Regions from separate parts of the Homo sapiens genome. Here region 2 is linked to region 1. The links are contacts of gene promoters, found by promoter capture Hi-C in human tissues and cell types (Jung and others, 2019). All regions are on one chromosome and are shown on one strand. The core of a region is centred on a gene start or on the middle of the fragment in contact, and the rest is flanking DNA. Distances in the headings are between cores, read along the strand shown.

Evidence for each region. The method cuts DNA at HindIII sites, captures the fragments that hold promoters and counts their contacts. A contact is called where the count stands out against the background at its distance.
Region 2: the fragment with the promoter of ZNF688 here is called in contact with the fragment with the promoter of SEPHS2 in region 1 in 5 of the 25 tissues and cell types used here (IMR-90 fibroblasts, lymphoblastoid cells, mesenchymal stem cells and 2 more).

The regions. Positions count from the first base shown.
Region 1 is chr16:30,443,588-30,449,177 of GRCh38, forward strand. SEPHS2 (selenophosphate synthetase 2) reads right to left here and starts at 2,287. Exons shown (of 1, transcript NM_012248.4): 1 at 44-2,287. The coding sequence starts at 2,140. The coding sequence ends at 794. RefSeq lists an enhancer at 1,479-2,425 and a silencer at 1,752-1,871. The HindIII fragment of the contact is 9,223 bases long and covers 1-5,590 here.
Region 2 is chr16:30,569,729-30,575,001 of GRCh38, forward strand. ZNF688 (zinc finger protein 688) reads right to left here and starts at 1,986. Exons shown (of 3, transcript NM_145271.4): 1 at 1,706-1,986; 2 at 1,282-1,395; 3 at 1-708. The coding sequence starts at 1,901. The coding sequence ends at 188. RefSeq lists enhancers at 1-327, 328-891 and a silencer at 1,754-1,993. The HindIII fragment of the contact is 17,900 bases long and covers 1-5,273 here.

The sequences.
Region 1 (5,590 bases), core at 1,037-3,536:
ATAAGACTGTATTGAATTTCAAACCACCAAACATTAGCCAGAATAGTTTTTCAACAAGGTTTCTTTTATTTATTTAGCAAGAAATTACTCTTTATTGATCAAATCACCAGGAATCTGCCGCAAAAGACTTAACATCTTAATGACCACTGAGGCCTGGGCTCTGAGGCTTGCTCTGCCTCTCCCAGTCCTTAATGGGGTTTAGAGGGAGAGACGTCATTAACAGAGACCAAGTCAGATGGTTGCAGGTCCTCCTTTCCCAGTCATCAGACAAGTTGCTCAATTCTTGTCCAGAGCAGGAAAGAGCCAGTACTTCAGTAAAATTGAATAAAGAATTTGATGTTGCATTATAAGATCTCTCTTAACAATTTAGATTTATCAACAATATTGGTCCAAAACTCATTTGCTTCTAATTTTTTTCATTTTGCAATTTACTTTGTGTGTGTGTTACTTTAATAATCTCACTCCCTGTGCAGAAATTAATCAACCCCGTGCAAAGAAAAATCCCTCAACCTGGAATAGCTTCATCTTACTTTGGCAAGAGAAAACAGAGGTATTTTTGCTCCTCTTCTACCCAAGTGATGAACAAATATCCCCCCAAAGTTCAAAATGTTACTCTGGCCTCGGAATGCATATAAAGACTGCTTTAGATGGGCTGATTCCAATCACCTAGAAAGGGCAGCCGGAACCACTATGCAGGCAGCCTTCTTTGGAAATTTCTTACAATCAACTCTTGAGAACCATCCGTGATTGTGGACAATGGCTCTAAGGTCCAAACAACTTCTGTTCTTTCATCTCACGAGCTAGGCTCAGAGGAGGCATTTGAACTGTCAGGAGCAAGAACAGCAGCTGTGGCCCCACGAGGCAGGACTTCAATAACTCGCGGCTTGTCAATGATCCGGGCCGTTCGGTTTCCCTTTTCCACAATGCCAACGATCCACGCTTGGTGACCCTCTCCGTACTTGGAGGATTTGATTTCAGAACAAAAGCGAGCCGCCTGTTCTCTTGGCAGACAAATCAGTAATCCCCCAGAGGTTTCAGCTGAGGTTCCTTGAAGAAGCCCAAACCGTCCACTGGCCTTGCTGACGGCAGCCATCTTGGCAATTATTGGCAGATTATGAATAACAAAGGACACTTCATTTCTTTGTTGTTTTGCAAGGTTCTGGGAGTGTCCTAGAATGCCAAAGCCTGTGATATCTGTGGCCGCATGGGCATTAAATGTGTGCATTAAACCTGCAGCAGTTCTGTTGAGGGTAGCCATATTGAACATGGCTTCCTGATAGGCCAGCTCCACCTCTTCTCTGGAGACCACCATCTTTACTTTATTCCATCTTTCAGGATTATCCAGCCATTGGTGGGCATTGACAGCAACCTGGGTTCCTAACGGTTTGGTTAACACCAGCACGTCCCCAACGACGGCGCTGTCCGGCATTATGAACTCATTTGGTTGGCATACTACAGTGGCAACTCCACCGATTATAATCCAAGGGTTGACCACCGTTTGCCCACCGGTCACTGCCGTCCCTCCTTCCTCAGCCGCATCCCGAAAGCCTTTGACCATGAGTGGCGTTACCTTTTCGCGTTCCTCCTCACTCATACTCTGGCTGACGCTGAGTAACATCAACATGTTGTCACACTCAGTAATCCCCATGGCGTAGAGGTCACTCAGCACGTTGGCACAAGCTATGCGCCCCATCATGTAGGGATCTTCTACCAAGGGGTAAAAGAAGTCCGTGGTCTGCACCAGTGACAGGCCCCCGTGCCTCAGGGGGATGACGCAGGAGTCCATCCCGATGCCCAGGGCTGGAAAGGTGGGGCTGGGGCCCGCTCCTGCCGGCAGGCCGGCTTCCTGGGACGCCTCTTCCTGGCCACCCACCAGGCCCCGGCCCAGCGGGGGCCGCACGTCCGGCCGCGTCAGTCCCGCCAGGAGTTTGAGCAGCGCCTCCTGCGGGACCTTGCAGCCTCAGCCCTTCATGCCGGAGAAGCCCGTCAGCCGCCAGCTCGGGCTGAGGCCCAACGCCTGGGGCTCGAAGGGCCGGTAGTTCGAGAAGCTCCGGCCCAGAGTCAAGCCCGCCGGGCCCGAGGAGCCTTCCGCCGCTGCCATCGCCTCTCCGCAGGCGCCCGTCGCCGAGGCTTCCGCCATGGCGCCTGCCCGGCAGGGAAGCGAGAGGAGAAGAGGGCCCTTTTATTTTCCACTCAGATTAATATGAAGCAAAAGTCAAATATTACCTGCAGGGATTCTCCCTAGCGCTACTCAAGCCGTCAGACCCACGGCATGCACAATCTTCCTGATAGAGGAGCCGCCGGACTCCCTTATTTATAGCCCTGGCGATTGACAGCCGCAACATCCAATGACGACTCCGCCACCGAGAGGCGGGCTTCCTAGACTCTAAAAGGTGCAACAACCTCCGGCTTGCAAAACCGCTTGCAACGGGATTGCAGAACGTCACGTGCTTTCCTTCGCTCTCTTAGTAATTTAAATGGTTTCTTGGCAGTGGCTGACGGAACTCTGCTCCCTTCCAGTCACTTTTCCAAGTCCAGCAAATTGTAGACGAGGGAAGATTGGTCACTCGGCAAACCTCATGATCGGCAGGATTGTCCCAAAGGTCACTTGACAGCGCACATGATCGATCCAGGATGGCAAAATAGCCCAAGGGAAAAAACAGAAAGCATGAGAAATTAGAAATTAAACTACTACCATTAAGTTAGCAAACTGCAGGCAGCATCAATATAATGAAATGTTAACAGGAACTTCAAGAACTCTAGGACTCAGGAGGTCGAGGCTGCAGTGAGCTGCGTCCGCGCCACTGCACTCTAGTCTGGGCGACAGAGCAAGAACCTGTCTCTAAAACAAACAACAATAACAAACAAACAAACACCCCCCCCACACACACAGACACACACAAAAAGAGAGATTTAGGACTGGAAGTCCAGACACCTGCATGGATTCTAATGGTGTTTCCCACCAGCTTTGTGTGGAGTCACTCTCCGCGTCGGTTGACTCATCCATCTGTGGAACAGAGTGGGTTACATAGGACTGGTCTATTCTAAAATTCCTATATCTCTGTAAATAAATATATATATATATCTTATATAGCCATGAAGGGCAGTTTGCCAATATCTATTAAAAACTCCACCTCCCAGGTTCAAGTGATTCTCCTGCTTCAGCCTCCTGAATAGCTGGGATTACAGGTGTGCGCCACCACACCCGGCTTATTTTTGCGTTTTTAGTACAGACGGGATTTCACCACGTTGGCCAGGCTGGTCTCAAACTCCTGACCTCAAGTGATCTGCTGGCCTCGGCCTCCCAAAGTGCTGGGATTACAGGCATAAGCCACCACACCCAGCCAATAAAAACTTTTTTAAAAGACAAGAAAATGAATAGAAGACTCAGCATAGGGGCTATGTCTAGGGAGGGCTACATAGGGAGCTTCTGGGCTATGTTTAATTCTGTTCATTGGGCTGGTGGTGGGTACGTGGTACATGGTTGTTCTTTAAACTGTACATAGATATTTTCGGGGCCGGGCACAGTGGCTCACACCTGTAATCCCAGTACTTTGGGAGGCCGAGGCGGGTGGATCACGAGGTTGGGAGATCGAGGCCAGCTTGATCTATATGGTGAAACCCCGTTTCTACTAAAAATACAAAAATTAGCCGGGCATGGTGGTGAGCGCCTATAATCCCAGCTACTCGGGAGGCTGAGGCAGGAGAATTGCTTGAACTTGGGAGGCAGAGGTTGCAGTGAGCCAAGACTGCACCACTGCACTCCAGCCTGGGTGAAAGAGCGAGACTCTGTCTCAAAAAAAAAAAAAAAAAAAACTGCACATAGATATTTTCCCACACTATTTTTGTAGGTATGCTATATTTCAGAATTTAAAAAACATGCAAAAAGAAAGCATGATGGAGTGGGAAAATACAGTGAAAGCAAAAGACCTTGTATGATGTCTGCATTGCTGTCAGTGAGCTGGCTGACCTTGAGGAAGTGATCTAGCCTCTCTGCACCTTAGTCTTCTCTTCTGTTAAACCAGGGTCACAATCTCTGCTTAGGATCTAGTGGAAGGGCCATAGGAAACCTCAGCTGAAAAGTGTTTTGCAAAATGTTAAGCCTATTGTACAGGGAAAGGATCCTCATATCTCTAAGGGAAAGAGGAAAACATTGTATTATGTCTGTAATCACCTCACCTGAGTTAAAAAGTGACTAGGTCAGGTGGTGCTGGTTATACATTCTCTTAGTTCTTTGGACTTCTCCCTCTCTGCACTTAGTACAATTTGCAATTCTTTTTTTTGTTTGTTTGTTTTTTGAAATGGAGTCTCGCACTGTCACCCGGGCTGGAATGCAGTGGTGCGATCTCGGCTCACTGCAACCTCCACCTCCCGGGTTCAAGCAGTTCTCCTTCCTCAGCCTCCCAAGTAGCTGGGATTACAGGCACCCGCCACCACAACCAACGAATGTTTTGTATTTTTAGTGAGACAGGGTTTCACCATGTTGGCCAGAATGGTCTTGATCTCTTGACCTCATGATCCGCCCCCTTCGGCCTCCCAAAGTTCTGGGATTACAGGCATGAGCCACCGCGCCTGGCCCTGTAATTCTTTAATCATGTGATAATGCCATGCCTATCTGTCTGGCCCCCTCGTTTGTAAGCTCTGCAGAGCAGGGGCTGCTCTGTTGTTTCTGTTTGTTTGTTTTGTTTTGTTTTGAGACAGAGTTTTGCTTTTGTCACCCAGGCTGGAGTGCAGTGGCTTGACCTCAGCTCACTGCAACCTCTGCCTCCCAGGTTCAAGCGATTCTCCTGCCTCAGCCTCCCGAGTAGCTGGGATTATAGGCACCTGCCACCATGCCTGCCTAATTTTTGTATTTTTAGTAGAGATGGGGTTTCACCATGTTGGCCAGGCTGGTCTCGAACTCCTGACCTCAGGTGATCCTCCTGCCTCAGCCTCCCAAAGTGCTGGGATTACAGGCATGAGCCACTGCACCTGGCTGAGGGGCCTCCTTGATAATACTCATAACCTCTACTCCATGCCCTTCTAGGAAGCAGAGGTCTTTGGGGGAAGGTTTTCATCCATACAGTTCCCTGTTGCTTCTACTTGGAGCAATATTCACTTGGGCCAGTGCAAAGAAAGTCACGAATTTGCCTTGGCCAGTGACCAACCTGCTGTGCTCAGAATGACACATGCATGTGCCTCTGTGCAGGTGACCCATAGGGGCCTCTCAAGGGTGACCCTGAGGGCTGCAGCCTCAGCACCTGGAAGCATTCCTTTTGTTCTTTTCTTATTTCTCACTGAGAGATCCATTGAGCTATGTTTTACTATTTGTGGCCGAGCGCAGTGGCTCACGCCTGTAATACCAGTACTTTGGGAGGCCAATGTGAGCGGATCACCTGAGGTCAAGAGTTCGAGACCAGCCTAGCCAATATGGCGAAACCCTGTCTCTACTAAAAATACAAAAATTAGCCGGGCATGGTGGTGCATGCCTGTAATTTCAGCTACTCAAGAGGCTGAGGCAGGAGGATAACTTGAACCCAGGAGGCGAAGGTTGCAGTGAGCAGAGATCGCACCAATGCACTCCAGTCTGGGTGCCAGAGTGAGACTCCAT
Region 2 (5,273 bases), core at 736-3,235, 130 kb after region 1:
GTGGCAAGTCTAATCTATTCGAATCTTTACAGGCACTTTTCTTTTTACAAGTTGGAAACTTGAGGGATCCTTGAGGAAAGCCCAGGGCATGAATTTCAGTTCCGGAGTCCCCGACTCAGTGGCCCACCTCAGGGATCCGTCAGTCCTTCGTGCCAAGGTCAGGCTCAACTCCAGCCTGCGGTGCCGCTCAGCCGCACTCCTCGAAGATGTCTGGGTAGTGCCGGAAGAGCACAGGCGGGTCCCGGTCACCTCGGACGGGGGCCCGAGGCACAGCCCGGATCCCAGGCCTCCGGCCCCGCCGCCCCCCGGAGCAGGAGCGGTGGATCCACTGGTGCGCTTCCACTGCGAACTTCCTCTTGAAGCGCATGCCACACTCGGGGCAGGGGAAAGGCCGCTCCCCCGAGTGCATGCGCCTGTGGCTGACCAGCAGTGAGGGGTAGGTGAAGCGGCGGCCGCAGTCCGTGCACACGTGGCGCCGCTGGCCGGCCTGAGCATCCATGCTGGGTATGGGTGCCGGGGGCTGTGCTCCTGTGGTCGGGTCCCAGGCAGCATTTTTGGGTGGCTGTGCCCGTGCCGGGGCCACGCTAATAGCTGGGTCAGGGTTGCGTTCCACCAGCACTTCAGGACTCTCCTTCACAGGAGCCTTTCTAGGCCCTTTGGCTCTTGGGACTTCCTCCGGTTCCTCTTCCTTCCTGTTTGGGACATCTCCTGGGAAACCGGAATTAAGTTACACTTACAAACACTTTTGCACAGACTGTCTCAGGTTATAGAATGCTTTTCACTTAAGGCAGTGAGGGAAGTTCTGTCCAGTGATTAACACACAGGCTTTAGAACAAGGTAAACAGGATTCAGATCTCCTAAAAGTGCCTTATCTGAGCCTTGGTTCCTTATGCATCAAATGGGAATAATAATGGCTTTTGACTTCACAGCGTTACTGGTTTAGCTGAGTAGATGCATGTTAAGCACTTAGGAAGTGCTCAGGAAGCAGGGGCTATTATTTATTTATTTATTTATTTATTTATTTATTTATTTATTTATTTTTGAGACGGAGTCTCACTCTGTCACCCAGGCTGGAGTGCCTGGTTGGACTGGGCTCCCAGTCCTCACAGGACCGCTGTCCCATGTTCTGAAAACTTTGTACCAGGTCTGCCTTCTTTACTCCTCTAGTACCCAACACAGTTGAATTTCTTTAGGGATGCTGGAAGTGGGGGCCTGAAAAGAAACTCTGCTAGACAGGAAGCCCTGGAAAACCAAGTGGGGGGACCCGGGACTATCCCTCACCTCTCCGAGCTCCTCCCAGTCTTTCCCCCTTCTCAGGATCCTGGGCGGCGGGGCTCCAAGCCTCACTCTCCTGTTCCATCCAAGAGATGAGGGCTGGTTTGGGGCCTGGGAATCCTGGGAGAGAACAGGGATCACAGCGCGGGCCTGAGAGGCCATCGTGGGAAGATGGCATTCCCCTCCAGGCTGAGGGCACCCCCTCGGAGCTTATACTCAACCTGGAAGGGGCTGCAGTGCTGCTGCCTGAATGAAATGGATGCGGGTGAAAACACTCCCGAGGGGGTACCTGAAGCCCTGGGAACGGGAGGTGGCTGCTGGTGTTGGTGCAAGAGTGCGGGATTAGGGCTCACAGTCCTCTCGGCCCTTCTACATCATCTCCCCTGTGAACCCGGTGAAGGAGGAGGGGGCTCGGACCCGGGGCTCTCACCGAGCGCGCCCAGGTGGCCGTAGGTCTCCTGCATCACGTCCCGGTACAGAGCCCTCTGCGCGGGCCGCAGACAGCCCCACTCCTCCGGGGAGAAGTACACGGCCACGTCCGCGAAGCTCACAGTCCCGGGCTTCCTGCAACCAGGCCGGGTCTCCCCGGGCCTCGGCGCCAGGAGCGGGGCTGGGGGCGGCGCCATGGGGCCTCGCAGCCCCGATCGGCGGCCGCCAGGTCCCTGGAGCCGCCGCCTCCCCGCTCCCGGCCTCAGCTGTCGTTGTCCACAGGAAGGGCGGCCCCGCCCAGCCGTGGCGTCCGAACGCAGCCGAGGCAACCGAAGTAGCAGGGACTGGCTGCTAGGGATTCGAGGATTCTGATAGGGACAAATATAATTCCTCAGTGTTTATTCACTTCATGGCCGCTTGGACATAGACACCCGGGTTAAGGGACCCGGAAGGTGCCTTCTGAAAATATGGCGACCACCCTTCAATTGTCACAGGCTGCTCTTAAGGGCGCCATTATTTGACCATATCAAATATGGAGCCTTTCTGACTTCTCTGGCCTCATCGTCCCACTTGCCCTTAAATAAAGCCGCTTCGGCTGCTTTTTCTAGTGGGGGAGGCGGGGTGTCTGGGAAGTAGAGGAGAGGCTTCTTGCCTTCAAGAAAGATGTAAGGGCCCGAAGCTTCACTTACCCCTCTGTACCCGCAATACGCAACGGCCGATGATTGGCGACGATCCCGGAAGAAGCTGCGCGGTGATTGGCCTGGGACTGGCGGGGCATTTGAAGGGACCCCGCGGTCCTGAAGCCTCTGTTGACAGACTGGAGCGCAGCGGAGACCTCGGCATCTGCGGTGCTCGGGATTGTGTCCCCTACGGTCTCTTACCGTGCCTCCCGATGGCGGGAGCTGGAATTTGGTCCCCAGACCCCTTGGGAAGACGCGCACACCCTGGCAAACCATGTGTACACCCGCGGTAGAAGCAGGTGCGTGTTTTACAGTAGCTTAGCTGCGGAGTCCACCCAGCCCCTGGCATCCGCAGCTCGGCTCGCTCAGGCTCTAGACCGAAGCTGCAGGCGAAGGAACGTGCTTGGTGAGGATGGAATCGGAATGGGGAAGTTTTAAATTAAATAGTAATTGTTGCTAACATACATGAATTTATTTTTTGTTTGTTTTGAGACAGGGTCTTGCTCTGTGGCCCAGCAGTGCGATCCTAGCTCACTGCAGACTCGACCTCCCGGGCTGAAGCGATCTTCTCACCTCAGCCTCCCGAGTAGCTGGGACCACAGGCGCACACCCAATGCTTGGCTAATTTTTAAATTTTAAAACAGAGACAGGGTCTTGCTATGTTGCCCAGGCTGGTCTGGAACTCCTGGCCTCAAGCAATTCTCCTGCCTCGGCCTCCCAAAGTGCTGTGATTACAGGCATGCGCCACGGTTCCCAGCCATTTCTACTTTTTCTTTGAGAAGGAGTTTTACTCTTGTTGCCCAGGCTGGAGTGCAATGGCGCTATCTCGGCTTGCCCAGGCTGGAGTGCAATGGCGCTATCTAGGCTCACCGCAACCTTCGCCTCCCAGGTTCAAGCGATTCTCCTGCCTCAGCCTCCCAAGTAGCTGGGATTACAGGCATGAGCCACCATGCCCGTCTAATTTTGTATTTTTAGTAGAGACGGGGTTTCTCCATATTAAGTCAGGCTGGTCTCGAACTCCCGACCTCAGGTGATCCTCCCGCCTCAGCCTCCCAAAGTGCTGGGATTACAGGCGTGAGCCACGGCGCCCGGCCCTGCCATTTCTACTTATTTACGTTGTTCCAAATTATCAAAGATAGCATCAACTTTCAAATCCTAATTTTTTTTTTCCTGGGAAACCTTCCTCCTTTAGCCTTCAGTCTCCTCTCTAAACTGGGTTGGGCCTCAGTTCTTCTCATACCGGGTCTCCCCTTCCTGCTGTCCTGGGTTGTATCTTCCGCTTCCTAGATTTAAGGTCTTTATTTTTCAGCCAAGATGGGTCATCCTCATGGCTGGTGGCATTGGACTGTAAATACTAGTTGCCTTCATCCCCACATTTGGAATATACCTGCAATCATACAGGATGCAGAATACTGTTTGCTAAGCGTGGGGCTGGTTGCTGGAGATAACAAGCAAGGCCTACCAGGTCCCTGCTGTCATTCTGGCTCTGGATCTACTTGCTTGGCTCCCCTGCCAGCCCTAGTATATCGAGCCTTCCTTTTTATTCAATAGTGTTTTTTATTGCTGACTTTTCAGTCAAGATTTCTTTGTGTTTTCTGGCCTACCCTTGCTGTTTTTCACCTGAAATGCTTTTTGGCTTTTAGTGTGACTCCTGCTGATCTCATATGCATATGTTATTAATTGATTAATTATTAATTGTTAATAATTAAATATTATTAATATGCTTACATTATTACCTTGAGTTCTGGAACTGCCTCACTGCACTCCATGTGGTGAATACTGTAGAAATTATATAAGGAAAAATATATCCTTAGAAATGAGTATTTTTTAAATTTTGAAAATATTTAATTTAGGCCCAGCCCAGTTGCTCACACCTGTAATCTCAGCACTTTGGGAGGCTGAGGTGGGCAGATTGCTTTAGGCCAGAAGTTAGAAACCAGCATGGGCAACATGCTGAAACTCCATCTCTACTAAAAATACAAAAATTGGCCAGGTCTGGTGGTGCACACCTGTAGTCCCAGCTACTCAGGAGGCTGAGGCACAAGAATTCCTTGAACCCAGGAAGCAGAGGTTGCAGTGAGCAAGATCATGCCACTGCACTTCAACCTGCGTGACAGAGTGAGACCCCGTCTCAAAAAGAAAAAAAAATTGGGCTGGGCACAGTGGCTTGTGCCTGTAATCCCAACACTTTGGGAGGCCAAGGCGGGAGGATCACCTGAGGTCAGGAGTTCGAGACCAGCCTGGCCAACATGGCAAAACCCCGTCTGTACTAAAAATACAAAAATTAGCTGGGTGTGGAGTCGGACGCCTGTAGTCCCAGCTACTCAGGAGGCTGAGGCACAAGAATGGCTTGAACTCAGGAGGCAGAGGTTGCAGTGAGCCAAGATCACACCATTGCACTCCAGCCTGTGTGACAGAGCAAGACTCCATCTAAAAAAAAAAAAAACAAACAAAACAAAAAATATATTGATACACAAAATTTTTACATATTTATGGAGTTCATGTGATATTTTGCTTTTCTTCATACATAGAATGTACAATAATCAAGTCAGGATATTTAAGGTATCAATCACTTTGAGTATTTAACATTTCTATGTGTTGGGAAAATTTCAAGTCCTCTCTTCTAGCTATGGAAATTTACAGTACTTTGTTAACTACAGTCACCCTACTCTGCTATTGAACATTACAAGTTATCCCTTCTTCCTAAGTGTATGTTTGTACCCATTACCCAACTTCTCTTCATCCACCTCTCCCACCCACGTACACCCTTCCAATCTCTGGTATCATTCTACTCTCTACCTCCATGAGATCAACTTTTCTAGCTCCCACATGTAAGTGAGGACATGTGATATTTGCCTTTCTGTGTCTGGCTTATTCACTTAACATAAT